Linked DNA regions of Homo sapiens: region 2 is linked to region 1. Evidence: promoter capture Hi-C in human tissues and cell types (Jung and others, 2019). All regions are on one chromosome and are shown on one strand. Each heading gives the region's core, a stretch centred on a gene start or on the middle of the fragment in contact. The rest is flanking DNA. Distances are from core to core; before and after follow the strand shown. Region 1 holds the start of ZNF121 (zinc finger protein 121). Region 2 holds the start of COL5A3 (collagen type V alpha 3 chain).

Region 1 (6,754 bases), core at 1,366-3,865:
CTTTTTAACTGGAAGATATGCTGCCAGGCTGCTGAGCATCGTCACTTAGTCATATAAGCCCCCTCTTTGATTCCCCTTCTCCTCTGGGAGTCTTTCTTCCTTTCCACCCTTTCTGAGCAGCGACCCACAGGTAGAAGCCTGTGGATATTCTCTTGCTGTTTGCTACCTCCCGCCACTCCTTACCTGTCAAAGCACATCCCAAATGAAGCTTGTGTGCTACTGCCGCCTTGTGGTCACGTCTTTTTCCTTACTCAGCCAAGAAATCACTTACACCCTGAATGCGTATATGGTTTTATTTTTCACATTTAGATCCCTAGTCCATTTAGAGTTTATTCTTGTATATGCTGTGAAGTATGGATTTAATTTCATCTTTTCTCTGATGGCTACCCAGCTGTCTTAGACTTTCCATTACAAATGGCTTTTTTTGCCTCATTGATCTGAAATACCTTTTTTTTTTTTTTTTGAGATGGATTTTCACTCTTGTTGCCCAGGCTGGAGTCCAGTGGCGCGATCTCGGCTCACTGCAACCTCTGCCTTCTGGGTTTCAGCGATTCTCCTGCCTCAGCCTCCCGAATAGCTGGGATTACAGAAAGCCCACCACCATGCTTGGCTAATTTTATTTTTGTATTTTTATTAGAGACAGGGTTTCACCATGTTGGACAGGCTGGTTTCGAACTCCTGACTTCAGGTGATCCTCCCGCCTCAGCCTCCCAAATTGCTAGGATTACAGGTATGAGCCACCGCGCCTGGCAAAATACCACATTTATGAACCAAATTCCTACATGTTCTTGGGTCTGTTTTTAGATATTTTATTAGTCTGTTTCTGCTTCATGTGCTAGTACCACATAGTTTTAATTATAGAGGCTTTATAGTATGTCTTATTTATTTTTATTTTAATATAATTTAATTATTTGCCTTGTGTGAAAACTGTTAATAGTATGTTTTAACATCTGCTGCTCATCATTGCTTTTGTTTTTGTTTTCTTGGTTATTATCAGATATTTATTCTTCCACATAAACTTTAGTATCAACGTACCTAACTCCAGAAAAAACTTTTAATATTTTTACTGGGATTATGTTACATTTCTGAATAAACCTGGGGAGAATGTCTGGTGTCAGTGCTATTTTACAATGTAGGAAATGTGGTCCTGGCCCATGTGGGAAGATCAGAAAAATAACAATAGAAATACATGTTTTTGGCCAGGCGTGGTGGCTCACATCTGTAATCCCAGCACTTTGGAAAGGTGAGGCAGGCGGATCATGAGGTCAGGAGTTCGAGACCAACTGGGCCAATATGGTGAAACCCTGTCTTTACTAAAAATACAAAAATTAGCCGGGCATGGCGGCGCCTGCCTGTAATCTCTGCTACTCAGGAGGCTGAGAGAGAAGAATCGCTTGAACCCGGGAGGCAGAGGTTGCAGTGAGCAAGATCGTGCCACTGCACTCCAGCCTGGGCAACAGAGCTAGACTCCATCTCAAAACAAAAACAAAAACATATTTAAAATTTTTTTTAAACAGAGACGGGGTCTTGCTGTATTGCCCAGGCTGGTCTCAAACTCCTGGCCTCAAACGATCCCTTGGCCTCCCAAATTGCTGGGATTATAGGCATAAGCCACCATACCCAGCCAGAAATACATACTTGATGAAGACAAAAAAAAATCAAGATTTACAGAAAATATTATTATATTGAAAACGTGGCCGGGTGCGGTGGCTCATGTCTATAATTCCAGCACTTTGGGAAGCTGAGGGAGACAGATCATTGGAGGTCAGGAGTTCGAGATCAGTCTGGCCATCATGGTGAAACTCTTCTCTACTAAAAGTACAAAAATTAGCTGGGCGTGGAGGCAGACATCTGTAATCCCAGCTACTCGGGAGGTTGAGGCAGGAGAATCACTTGAACCCGGGGGGCAGAGGTTACAGTGAGCCGAGGTCATGCCACTGCACTCCAGCCTGGGCAACAGAGTGAGATCTGTCTCAAAAAAAAATAAAAAATGAAAAAGAAAAACGAAAAAAGAAAACGCAATGGAACCAGCAGGTTCTAAAAAATAAAGAATGAAGAAATAAAGGCCTACAGAAAGCCTGACTGAATAGAAGAGATAGACCATGCCATTCACTGGCAGCTTTATCCATATGGAAGAATCATGGAAAGGCTCTAGGAACATGAGATGTATACAAACAAGCTTTATATATATGTATACACACATATATATTTTAATAAAGGATGTTGCTATTTTGCCCACGCTGGTCTTGAACTCTTGGACTCAAGCTATCCACCTGCCTTAGCCTCCCAAAGTGTTGGACTTACAGGCCTTAGCCACTGTGCCCACCTGGGAAAAGCTCTGCAGGAGCATCCCCTGGGGTGCGTCCCATCCCCCACGCCCGCCCTTCCAGCAGGTCCGGCCACCTGAACCGCCGGCTAGCCGGGTCCCACCTCTAAACCGCCCCCAAGTAAGGGCCTGTCCGCGCCCACCCGGGAAGAAACTACAATTTCTGTGTTTGACTGGGTCCTATGTGGCTGAAACTCGAACCCAGGAGCCCCGCCCGGCCCGAGGCTCGGAGCGGAAGTGACGTCAGCGCACAATCGCCATCTTTTCCGGCGCTGGCTCCGCATGGTCAGTGCCATTTCGCCTTTATCGTGGTGGAGTCCACCCTGGCTGTGGTGAGTTCCGCCTGCTTGGGGATCCCGGAGATAGCGGGGGGCGGCAAAGGAACGATTGGGTGCTGTCGCCCAGGAGCCTCTCCGATCCGCCTCGTTTCACTCTCTTCTCCAGGGGCTGTCGGTCCTCCTTGCGCGGCCAGTGGCTAGAGGCCGCAGGCTCAGTGGGTCCCAGTCAGGAGCCAGGTCGGGAAGTGTGTTTGTCCCGACTCCGCGCGTTTTCTGGAGTGGTTTCATCCGCTGTGCTCCCTTCTTCAAAAGCTTGGAAAGCAACCTTTGTGAGTTTCTTTCTTTCTGAAAGTAAAAGGATTTCTGCCGTTCCAGTCAGGTTGGCTCCGGCCCCGCATTTCCGCGCCTCAGGAACCTGGCGTTTCCGGCATGTTCCTGGTGAACACCTGCAGAAAATTGGTTTCAAGAGGGCTCTGACTTCCATTTCTTTGCTTAAAAATGTCTCGTCTGAGAATCTGGCATTGATGTCCTATTCTTATTTTTGACACATTACTTTCTGATGGAAAAAAAATAGTCGTTTAGGGTGTGCCTATATCTGCATGTAAATATGAACACGTGTAGACTGTGAGCCTTTAGTTTCTTATTTTATTTTCTTGGACTTAATGTTTTTTGTTGTTACCAGCTACAAGCCTTTCTACAAAAGAAAGGCAGGCTGGGCGCGCTGGCTCACGCCTGTAGTCCCAGCCATTTGGGAGGTCGAGGCGGGCAGATCACCTGAGGTCAGGAGTTCGAGACCAGCCTGGCCAACATGGTGAAACCCTGTCTCTACTAAAAATACAAAAAATTAGCCAGGCGCGATGGCGGGCGCCTGTAGTCCCAGCTACTCGGGAGGCTGAGGCAGGAGAATGGCGTGAACCCGGGAGGCGGAGCTTGCAGTGAGCCGAGATCGCGCCACTGCACTCCAGCCTGGGCAAAAGAGGGAGACTCCGTCTCACACACACAAAAAAAAAAAAAAAAAAAAAAAAGCCAGGCTTGGTGGCAGTCCCCTGTAATCCTAGCTACTTGGGAGGCTGAGGCAGGAGGATTGCTTGAACCTGAGAGGCCGAGGTTGCAGTGAGCCGAGATCTGCCACTGCACTCCAGCCTGGGCGATGAGAGCGAAACTCCGTCTCAAAAAAGAAAGAAAGGCAATAATACACAGCTGTTGTCTTTATCTGAAGTTCCTAGGTCTGTACCCCCCCACAGAGCTTCAAAACGGGCCCACAGGAAGAAAGGATGGAGGCTTTTGTTTGTTTTTTTCAGACGGAGTCTTGCTCTGTCGCCCAGGCTGGAGTGCAGTGGCGCGATCTCAGCTCACTGCAACCTCCACCTCCTGGGTTCAAGTGATTCTCCTGCCTCAGCCTCCGAGTAGCAGGGACAACAGGCATGGGGACCATGCCCAGCTAATTTTTTTTTTTTGTATTTTTAGTGGAGACAGGGTTTCACCATGCTCGCCAGGCTGGTCTCGAACTCCTGACCTTGTAATCCGCCTGACGGCCTCCCAAAGAGCTGGGATTACAGGCGTGAGCCTCCGCTCCTGGCCAGGATGGAGGCTTTATAATCAGAATATTATTCTAGTATTAGTGTAATAAAGTAGTATCTATTGAATTTATTAACAGCATGTTTAGACTAAGTGTAGTTTTGACATTTTTTTCTGAAAAATTTGATCCTAGGGAAAACTTGAACATCTAACACACCCAGTCTAGTAGTTTTTTTTTTTTTTTTTTTGAGACAGAGTCTCGCTCTGCTACCCGGGTCGGGGTGCAGAGGTGCGATCTCGGCTCACTGCAACCTCTGCCTCCCAGGTTCAAGTAATTCTCCTGCCTCCCTAGCATTAGGTGCGTCCATGTGAAGAGACCACCAAACAGGCTTTGTATGAGCAATAAAGCTTTTAATCACCTGGGTGCAGGCAGACTGAGTTCAGAAAAGGAGTCAGCAAAGGGAGATAGGGGTCGGGCAGTTTTATAGGATTTGGGTAGATAGTGGAAAATTACAGTTAAAGGAGGTTGTTCTCTTGCGGGCAGGGGCGGGGATCACAAGGTGCTCAGTGGGGAGCTCCTGAGATTCATTGTCCAGGAGAAGGAATGTCACAAGGTCAATTGATCAGTTAGGTTGGGGCAGGAACAAATCACAATGGTGGAATGTCATCAGTTAAGGCAGGAACTAGCTATTTTCGCTTCTTCTTGTTGTTCTTCAGTTGCTTCAGGCCATCTGGATGTATACGTGCAGGTCACAGGGAGTCTGATGGCTTGGCTTCGGCTCAGAGGCCTGACACCTAGTAGCTGGGACACAGGCACATGCCGCCATGCCCAGCTAATTTTTTTTTGTATTTTAGTAGAGACAAGGTTTCACCATGTTGGCCAGGCTGGTCTCGAAATCCTGAGCTCAGGCAGTTCACCTGCTTCGGCCTCCCAAAATGCTGGGATTACAGGTGTGAGCCACTGTGCCTGAACACTTACTTTTTGAGCATTGTGCTTGTTTTCTTTCACCTCAGGTAAATACATTTTATGGTGAACAATTTGAGTGTAAATTGAGCATAATTGCACACGTGATACTTGACCTTTAAATACTTGGTAATGCATCGCCTAAAAAAATAGCACTGTCATTCTGAAACCACAATACTAGTATTTCACTTAAATAAAAAATAATAATGTCATCTAATGTCTGCTTTTTATAATAACTAAAATTCTCCGCATTGATTCAACGTATGCTCTTGGATGTTTTTGGGTTTAAGATCCATTCAAGATTTTTACATTGCAATTGTTAATGTTTTCAGTGTCTTTTTACCTAGAACAGTTATTATTGTATATTATATTGACTTTTGGAGAGTCACACTGTGGGATATGAGGATATGATGAGGTTTCTCTTCAAATAATCTCATCAATCTTTTATTCTCTAATTCATAGTACCCCCCCTTTTTCTCCTTTTTTCTCCTTTTTGCCTTTGTTAGATGCCCAGGCATGCCACAGTACAAAGCGTTATCAGTACCAGCTCACATACCTTTCCTTACTTAGAAAGAGGACTTTCTAGCTCACTACAGACATCCCTTCCCCTTCCTCTCCACTTTTCTTCTACGTGCCCACCCTATCTAAAAAAAATCAGGTGTTTCACCAACCGGGATTAGTTTAGATTGTACGACCTGACCCCGGCCAATAGGGAAAGGGTACAGGGGCAGGACTTGCATCAGGAGTAAAGGCTCTCATGCCCCTTTGTTCAGGTGTGCTCTCATGGCAACTGGTCAAGGAGGCACCCCTCTGCACAGAAGTAAAATTGCTTTGCTAAGAATCCTTTGTTCGAGTGTTCAATTTCCTTAGGATTTTGAGCGTTATTCCTAACACTCATTCTCTTAGAAAGTCATACAATCAGATATTTCTGATTGGATTCTCATGGTGTGTGTAAATATTCCTTTATTTCATGCGATTTCCTACAAACTCGGGGTTTTTGGCCTAAAGGAGAAGCTGACAACCTTTGTTTGATAAGGGCTGACAGTATGTACTTCGTGCTTTGGGGACCAGAAAGTCTCAAATTACTCAGATCTGCCTTAGTTACTTCATGTCCCATGATTAGTTGTTCATTCTCTATCGCATGGTAGTGGCAAACCACAACCTGTTTCTCAAAAGAGAAACAGTTAATCTGCACAAGAGGGCATGGATTGACTATGGAATACCAGAGGCCTCTACTCTACATCTTCTGTTGGTGTATGCCAGAGGCTTCCAATAAATAGGATGCCATTTAACATGGACACGTTGAGTATCATTGGGTCTGCTGGATCAGGTGGACCAAGTGCTTGGGAAGCCTGCAGTGCAGCCTGAAATTGCTCTTGTCTACAGTTGAAACTAGAATCCTTACAGGCAACTGTGTGGGGCGTTAAAGCACATACAAATGTATATGTTGCCTCCAAAATTCAAGAGGTTTACGGGTGGTAGCTCTATTGACAGTTCTATTTTTAGTTTTTTGAGAAACCCCCATACTGAGTTTTTTTTTTTTTCTTTTTTGAGTCTTGCTGGATCACCCAGGCTGGAGGGCAATGGCATAATCATGGCTCATTGCTCGTTTTTAGTGGTAGGTGGTATTAGGTGAAGTAACTTGGAGGGACATCTTGCAGGGAATGT
Region 2 (6,754 bases), core at 4,043-6,542, 430 kb before region 1:
ATCTTTTGTATTTTTAGTAGAGACGGGGTTTCACCATATTGGTCAGCCTGGTCTCGAACCTCAGGTGATCTGCCCACCTCATCCTCCCAAAGTGCTGGGATTACAGGCGTGAGGAGCCAGAGAGCCACAGCACCTGGCCAAGCTTTTATGCCCTTTTTTTTTTTTTTGAGACGGAGTCTCGCTCTTGGTGCCCAGGCTGGAATACAGTGGTGAAATCTCAGCTCACTGCAACCTCTGTCTCCCGGTTCAAGCAATTCTCCTGCCTTAGCCTCTCAAGTAGCTGGGATTATAGGCACTGCCACCATGCCTGGCTAATTTTTGTATATTTATTTATTTATTTATTGAGACAGAGTCATGCTCTGTCGCTTAGGCTGGAGTGCAGTGGCATGATCTCGACTCACTGCAAGCTCCACCCCACAGGTTCACGCCATTCTTCTGCCTCAGCCTCCCGAATAGCTGGGACTACAGGCATCCACCACCACGCCTGGCTAATTTTTTGTATTTTTAGTAGAGACGGGGTTTCACCATGTTGGCCAGGCTGGTCTCAAACTCCTGATCTCAGGTGATCTGTCCACCTAGGCCTCCCAAAGTGCTGAGATTACAGGCATGAGCCACTGTGCCCAGCCTCAAGCTTATGTTCTTAAGCAGGACCTCAGCATATGTACTATGTCTGCACATGCACCAGCATACGTGTTTGATATCCCCCAATGTGTGCACCCATAATCACCCATGAACACTCCTGGGGGCATTTGCCTCTTGTCTTCGGGTCAGTGTGATTTGTGGGTAGCAGGCACGTGAATGGGGTCACTTGCATCTACATGTGATATAGTGGGAAACATGGGTGCAAGGGATGGGCTGCCTGAGTTCAAATCCCAGCTCTGCTACTTTGCAGCTGGGAGACCTTGAGCAAAGACCTTTCACAGTCTGCACCTTAGTTTCCTCATTTCTAAAATAGGGCAGGCCAGGCACGGTGGCTCATGCCTGTAATCCCAGCACTTTGGGAGGCCCAGGCAGGCAGATCACCTGAGACCAGGAGTTCGAGACCGGTCTGGCCAACATGGTGAAACCTTGTCTATTAAAAATACAAAAACTTAGCCGGGTGTGGTGGTGCATGCCTTAATCCCAGAAACTCGGGAGGTCAAGGCATGAAAATCACTTGAACGTGGGAAGTGGAGGCTGCAGTGAGCCAAGATGCACCACTGCACTCAGCCTGGGTGACAGAGCAAGACTCTGACTCAAAATAAATAAATAATAAAATAATAATAAAATGGGGTGAATGATTGTGCCTGCCTCACGGGTGTGATGTGAGGATTAAATGACTTCCTGGATTCAGGGCACTTAGAATGCAGCTTGGTGCATTGTAAAAGCTCCATAAACATTAGCCTCCAGCAGTTTCATACACCCATCTGCCCGCCCATAGGGACACACGTTATTCCCTGCACACTGGCATTCAGGCTGTCATGCTCAAAGCTGTGTGCGTCTCTAAAACAGAGGGCAGAGGGCTGGGAGAAGCAGCCCTGCCAACTGGGGCAATGCCCTCACCCCCAGTCGCCTCTTTGTAAGTAACAACCCTTTGCCCACTTTGACTCCAGCATGCTCCCTCTGGGTCAGGGGTTCTCCTGGTTGGTTAGGATGCAGGTCCCAGGGATTTATTCTAGAGGTGCAGAAGGGCAAGTTCTTAGAACTAGAAGGCCATCCCTTCAACCCCCAAGGTCAGGAGCACTTAAGAAGCTTATCTCAGTAAAAGCAATAATCTGGGGAGACGTGGAAGAGTGAGCATCAGGGTAGTGATTATTCCAATCTAGGAAATGCCCTAGTGAAACCCTTCTAAAAATAACCCCCACCCACCCCCTGCCACTCTCAGCATGCTTTATTTTGTGTCTCAGCACTTATTCCCACCAGATAGAGCAACAATTTCTTTTTATCTGTTTATCACCCATTCTCCCTCTCCTCCCCACATGACACCCGTCCTGAGGGCTGAGATTTTTGTCTATTTCATCTCCAGTTGTGTTGCCAGCATTCAGAGCACCCAGAAGATGCTCAAGAAATATTTCTAGGATGAGGGGATGATTCCTGGAGGGAATCCTGGGTCTCCCCAAGCCCACAAGTGCAGCTGGGAGGGATGGGTAGGGGAGACAGTGCTGGGGAAGCCGTTTCCACCCGGCTGCCTCCTAGTGCCACCCTGCACTTCTTACCCTGGTAGCGCTTCTTGGGGTCATGGGCCAGTTGCACTGCAAGTTCCAGACCAATTCCTGATGAGCAGCCGGAGATCAACACAGTCCGGGGTGCAGCGGCCATGTTGATCCCCTCCCTGGACTCGTGACCTCCGCCGGGCAGCACCTGACTCTGACCATTCATCCTGGGCTCATCTGCTCCCTCCTAACCCCCTCCCACAGATCCCCTGCAGGGCAAAGCCTCTGCCCTCCCCCGGAGACCCTCAATTCTGGACTGACCCTGAACAGGCAGTAAGAGAGAATCTCTTAAATCCTCTCTGCACCTCATTTTCTTCATCTGCCAAACATTTCTTCTCCGCACCTACTATAGACATCACTGGTTTTTGTTTGTTTGTTTTTAAGAGACAGCATCTTGCTCTGTCACTCAGGCTGGAGTGCAGTGGCACCATCATAGCTCACCACAGCCTCAAGCGATCCTCCTATCTCAGCCTCCAGAGTAGCTGGGGCTACCGGCGCACACTACCATGCCCAGCTAATTTTTAAATTTCTTTTTCTTTTAGACATGGGATCTTGCTATGTTGCCCAGATTGGTCTCGAACTCTTGGCCTCAAGTGATCCTCCTGCCTTGGCCATTTGTAACTGTTTTCTTAATTTATAATTTTTATTATGACTGTAAATTATTATTATTATTTTGAGACAGAGTCTTGCTCTTGTCACCCAGGCTGGAGTGCAGTGGTGCAATTTCGGCTCACTACAACCTCAGCTTTCCAGGGTAAAATGATTCTCCTGCCTCAGCCTCCTGAGTAGCTGGGATTACAGGCGTGTGCCACCACACCCAGCTAATTTTTGTATTTTTAGTAGAGATGAGGTTTCGCCATGTTGGCCAGGCTGGTCTTGAACTCCTGACCTCAAGTGGTCCAGCCGCCTCAGCCTCCCAAAGTGTTGGGATTACAAGCATGAGCCACTGAGCCTGGCCGAGTATAAATTATTTAGGGCTGGGGAGAGTTTCTGTGAAAGTTGGGGGGAATTAGTGTCTGTATTCTGGGTGAAGAATCTCTGATTGAAGGGAGAGAGTGAGAGAAGGAGACAGAGAATGTGGATCCAGAAGTGTTTCATAGAGGGAAGGGGTGTAGAACTGTCAGAAGATGTAGTTAGACTATAGGAAGAACTTCCAGCAAGGCAGGGCAGGGCAGGAATTTTGTGAGAGTCTTTTAGTTGGAGAAGTCTCAGCCTCAGATGTCCCTGGGGTGGGAGGAGGCACAGCTTACAGAGATACCCTCTCCTCCTCCCACCCTGGGGGGCCCCCATCTCCCCCTCAGGCTTGATGGGGCCCCAACCCCTCCTCTTCAGGGACACAGAGACTCTTTGTCTGGGGAGTCAGAGGCTGGGAGGGAGGCACTGCTTGCGTCTCCCTCTTCCCCTGGGGCGGAGGTGGGGGAAGCAGGGTTCGGGGAGCAGTTCAGGGCTCAGAATACGCCTCTTGGTTCCTCCCCTCCCTGGGGAAACACCCTCACATCCTGCGTGTCTGCGCTTGTCCAATTGCATAAAAGCTCTATTTGACCTCATGGGGGCCTCTTCATGCTGGAGGTGGGGGTCCCAGCACGGTGAGGGGGGCCTCTGCCTCATCCCAAGAATGGCAAGAATCCACCCCTTCCTCCCCAGTGGCTGTGCGTTGCTTTGCGACAGGGACAGATTCCCACCACCTCCCACCAACGCGCCGGCCTTTTTTTTTGAGACAGACAGAGTCTTGCTCTGTTGTCCAGGCTGGATCGCAGTGGCACAACCTCAGCTCACTGCAACCTCCACCTCCCGTGTTCAAGTGATCCTCCCACCTCAGCCTCCCAAGTAGCTGGGACTACAGGCGCCAGTCACAATGCCTGGCTAATTTTTGTATTTTTAGTAGAGATGGGGTTTCGCCATGTTGGCCAGCTGATCTCTAACTCCTGGACTCAAGCGATCTGCCCGCCCCAGCCTCTCAAAATGCTGGGATTACAGGCATGAGCCACCGCACCCAGCTCAGACTCCCTCATTTGGTGGGGATTTGGGATTGAGGCCGGGGCATCCACTGGAGACCTGAGTTGGGGCGGGGGGAGATGAGGGTTAGGGATGGAGATGAGACCCTTTATTTGAGGAATCAAGAATTTGGGGAAAGTGAAAACTGTGTTTTGGGATCTGTGGTGAGAATTTGGGACCAGGACACGTGACTTAGGGATTTGAGTGGACAGATGAAGGTTTGGAGTAAGGCTGGGGACCCCATTTTGGGATCTGGGGTGAGATTTGAGGTGGGATGAGGACCCGTTAGGGACTTGAAGGAAAGGCTTTGGGGCTGAGGCTGGTACCTCCTATTGTGCAGCTGAGGGACTGAGGATAAAGCAGGTAGGTGAGTGAGAGTTCGGGGTGAGGTTGGGACCCCAGTTGGGGGCCTGAGTGAGGCAGAAAGGACTTGGTGCCAGGGGCGGTGGCTCATGCCTGTAACTCCAGCGCTTTGGGAGGGCAAGGCCGGAGGATCGCTTGAGACCAGAAGTTCAAGACCGGCCTGGGCAGCATAGCAAGATCCCGGTCTCTACAAAATATACATATTTTAAAATTAGCTGGGTGTGGCAGTGTGTGCCTGTGGTACCTGCTTCTCAGGAGGCTGAGGCAGGTGGATGGCTTGAACGCAGGAGTTGGAGGCTGCAGTGAGCTATGATTGCACCACTGCACTCCAGCTTGGGTGACAGATCAAGACCCTGTCTCCAAAATAAAATGTAAAAATAATAGAAAATAAAAAAGATTTGGTATAAAGCTGCACCTCCTCCTAATTCTAGGGCCTGGATGGAGGCTGAAGTCTTGAATGAGGTTAAGGTCTCCTTTGAGGGGATCTGCTAGGCGGAAAAGGTTTGGGGTAAGACTGGAACCCTCGAACTCTAGGGCTGGGTGGGAGTGACCCTTCTCCTCCACAGTGGGGTGGGGCAGGAACAACCCAGCTCCTGGCGCTGGGCTCCACCCCAGCCAGCCAATCAGCCCTCAGCACAAAGTTTCCCAACTTCCCAGTCCAGCTGTCAGCGCTCCCCCTCCAAAAAGCCCCGCCTGGCCAGGCGCTGGAGCGCAGGGCGAGGCCAGGGCGGGGTCTCGGGCAGTTTCCCGCGGACCCTGAGAGGAGCGGCCGCCGCGAGTGACTGCACCGAGCCCGAGAAGTCGCCGCGCCCCGCAGCCGCCCCGACTGGTTCCCCGCCTTGCCCGTGGGCCCCGCCGGGATGGGGAACCGCCGGGACCTGGGCCAGCCGCGGGCCGGTCTCTGCCTGCTCCTGGCCGCGCTGCAGCTTCTGCCGGGGACGCAGGCCGGTGAGCCGGGAGGGAAGAGATGGGACCCAGGGTCCACGACTCAGAGAGGCTCTAAAAGAGCGAGGGGTGGAGGGGGGTGGAGGGGCGTGGAGGGGAAGGGCGTGGGCGCCGCGTGCGGCCCCGGTGTGATGTGGGCGCATGAGTATCTGACTCTGGGTGATTTGTGGGTGTGACAGCTCGGGGTGGGGGTGGGGATGTGTGAGTGCGTTTTCTGGCGAGCGCGTGGGAATGCATGCAATGTGCAGGTGTGTGCATGTGTGTATGTGTGTGTAGCATGTGTGTGCATTTGGAGTGAAGTTGCGTATGTGCTTGCGTGTGGAGGTTGATGGTGATAGTGTGACTGTGAGTGACAGGGCAGTGCTGGGACGGTGTGTATTGCGACAGGTGAGTATGCACTTGTGCTCTTGTCTATGTGCTGATTTTCGAGGGTAACCGTGTGAGTGGTTATGCGTGTGATTGTGTGTCTCTGAGTGCCGCTATGAGGGGTGTAGTTATGATTTTTGGGTGCAAATAATTGCCCATGAGGATGAAGGTGGGTGGGGACAAGTATTGGGGGGTGCTCTTCGGGAACCCACAGTTTCCTTTGCGTCTCTTTAAATGGCTTCACCTCATTCTCCCTTTTCCTCCTCTGCCCCAAATTGGCGAGCGCCCATCTCCTCCCCTCCCTCCCTGTTGCCCCCTCCCCCACCCCGCGGTCCCCAGAGCCGCGATCAGCACCATGGACAGGGCTTCGGGGAGGGCCGCGGTGAGGGGCGAGACGGGGCGGGGCGCAGGGCGGGGCAGGAGTGGAAGTTGCTCCCCCCCTCCCCACCCCAGCTGCTGGAGCCTTGGGTGTTTTTCCCGAGGAATTTCTCAGGAGCCCCCAAGGGGTCCCGGGGGCCGCCGGATGGGTGAGTCAGCGCTGACGCACGCCCAGCTGCGCGCATCTGGCTGGGCGCCCTGTCCCGCCCCTCAGGGTTCAGAGTGGGGGGCGCTTCGGGAGTCAGGGGATGGCGTAGCTTCTCAAGTGTTGGAGATGGGGCTTCCCTGATCTGAGAGACCCTAGACTAGGTCCTCCTGGAAATCCCTTTCTAAGGTGAGCTCAGTCTCCCAACACACACACACACACACACACACACACACACACACACACACACCACAGCACACTTCTTACTTTGGAGTCCAGGAAGGTGCCTGTCCATATGGTTAATCCCTGATTGGACTATGCCGCATTCCCACGCTCACACATCCACATGGTCATGGAATCTTAGGCATCC

The links. The method cuts DNA at HindIII sites, captures the fragments that hold promoters and counts their contacts. A contact is called where the count stands out against the background at its distance.
Region 2: a contact is called between the fragment with the promoter of COL5A3 here and the fragment with the promoter of ZNF121 in region 1, in 1 of the 25 tissues and cell types used here (heart left ventricle).

The regions. Positions count from the first base shown.
Region 1 is chr19:9,580,365-9,587,118 of GRCh38, reverse strand. It overlaps ZNF121 (zinc finger protein 121), which reads left to right and starts at 2,615. Exons shown (of 4, transcript NM_001008727.5): 1 at 2,615-2,658. RefSeq lists enhancers at 2,225-3,036, 3,851-4,663, 4,664-5,477. The HindIII fragment of the contact is 2,529 bases long and covers 1,195-3,723 here.
Region 2 is chr19:10,009,042-10,015,795 of GRCh38, reverse strand. COL5A3 (collagen type V alpha 3 chain) reads left to right here and starts at 5,292. Exons shown (of 67, transcript NM_015719.4): 1 at 5,292-5,498. The coding sequence starts at 5,411. RDH8 (retinol dehydrogenase 8) reads right to left here and starts at 2,313. Exons shown (of 6, transcript NM_015725.4): 1 at 2,196-2,313. The coding sequence starts at 2,298. RefSeq lists an enhancer at 1,523-1,692. The HindIII fragment of the contact is 11,359 bases long and covers 1,182-6,754 here.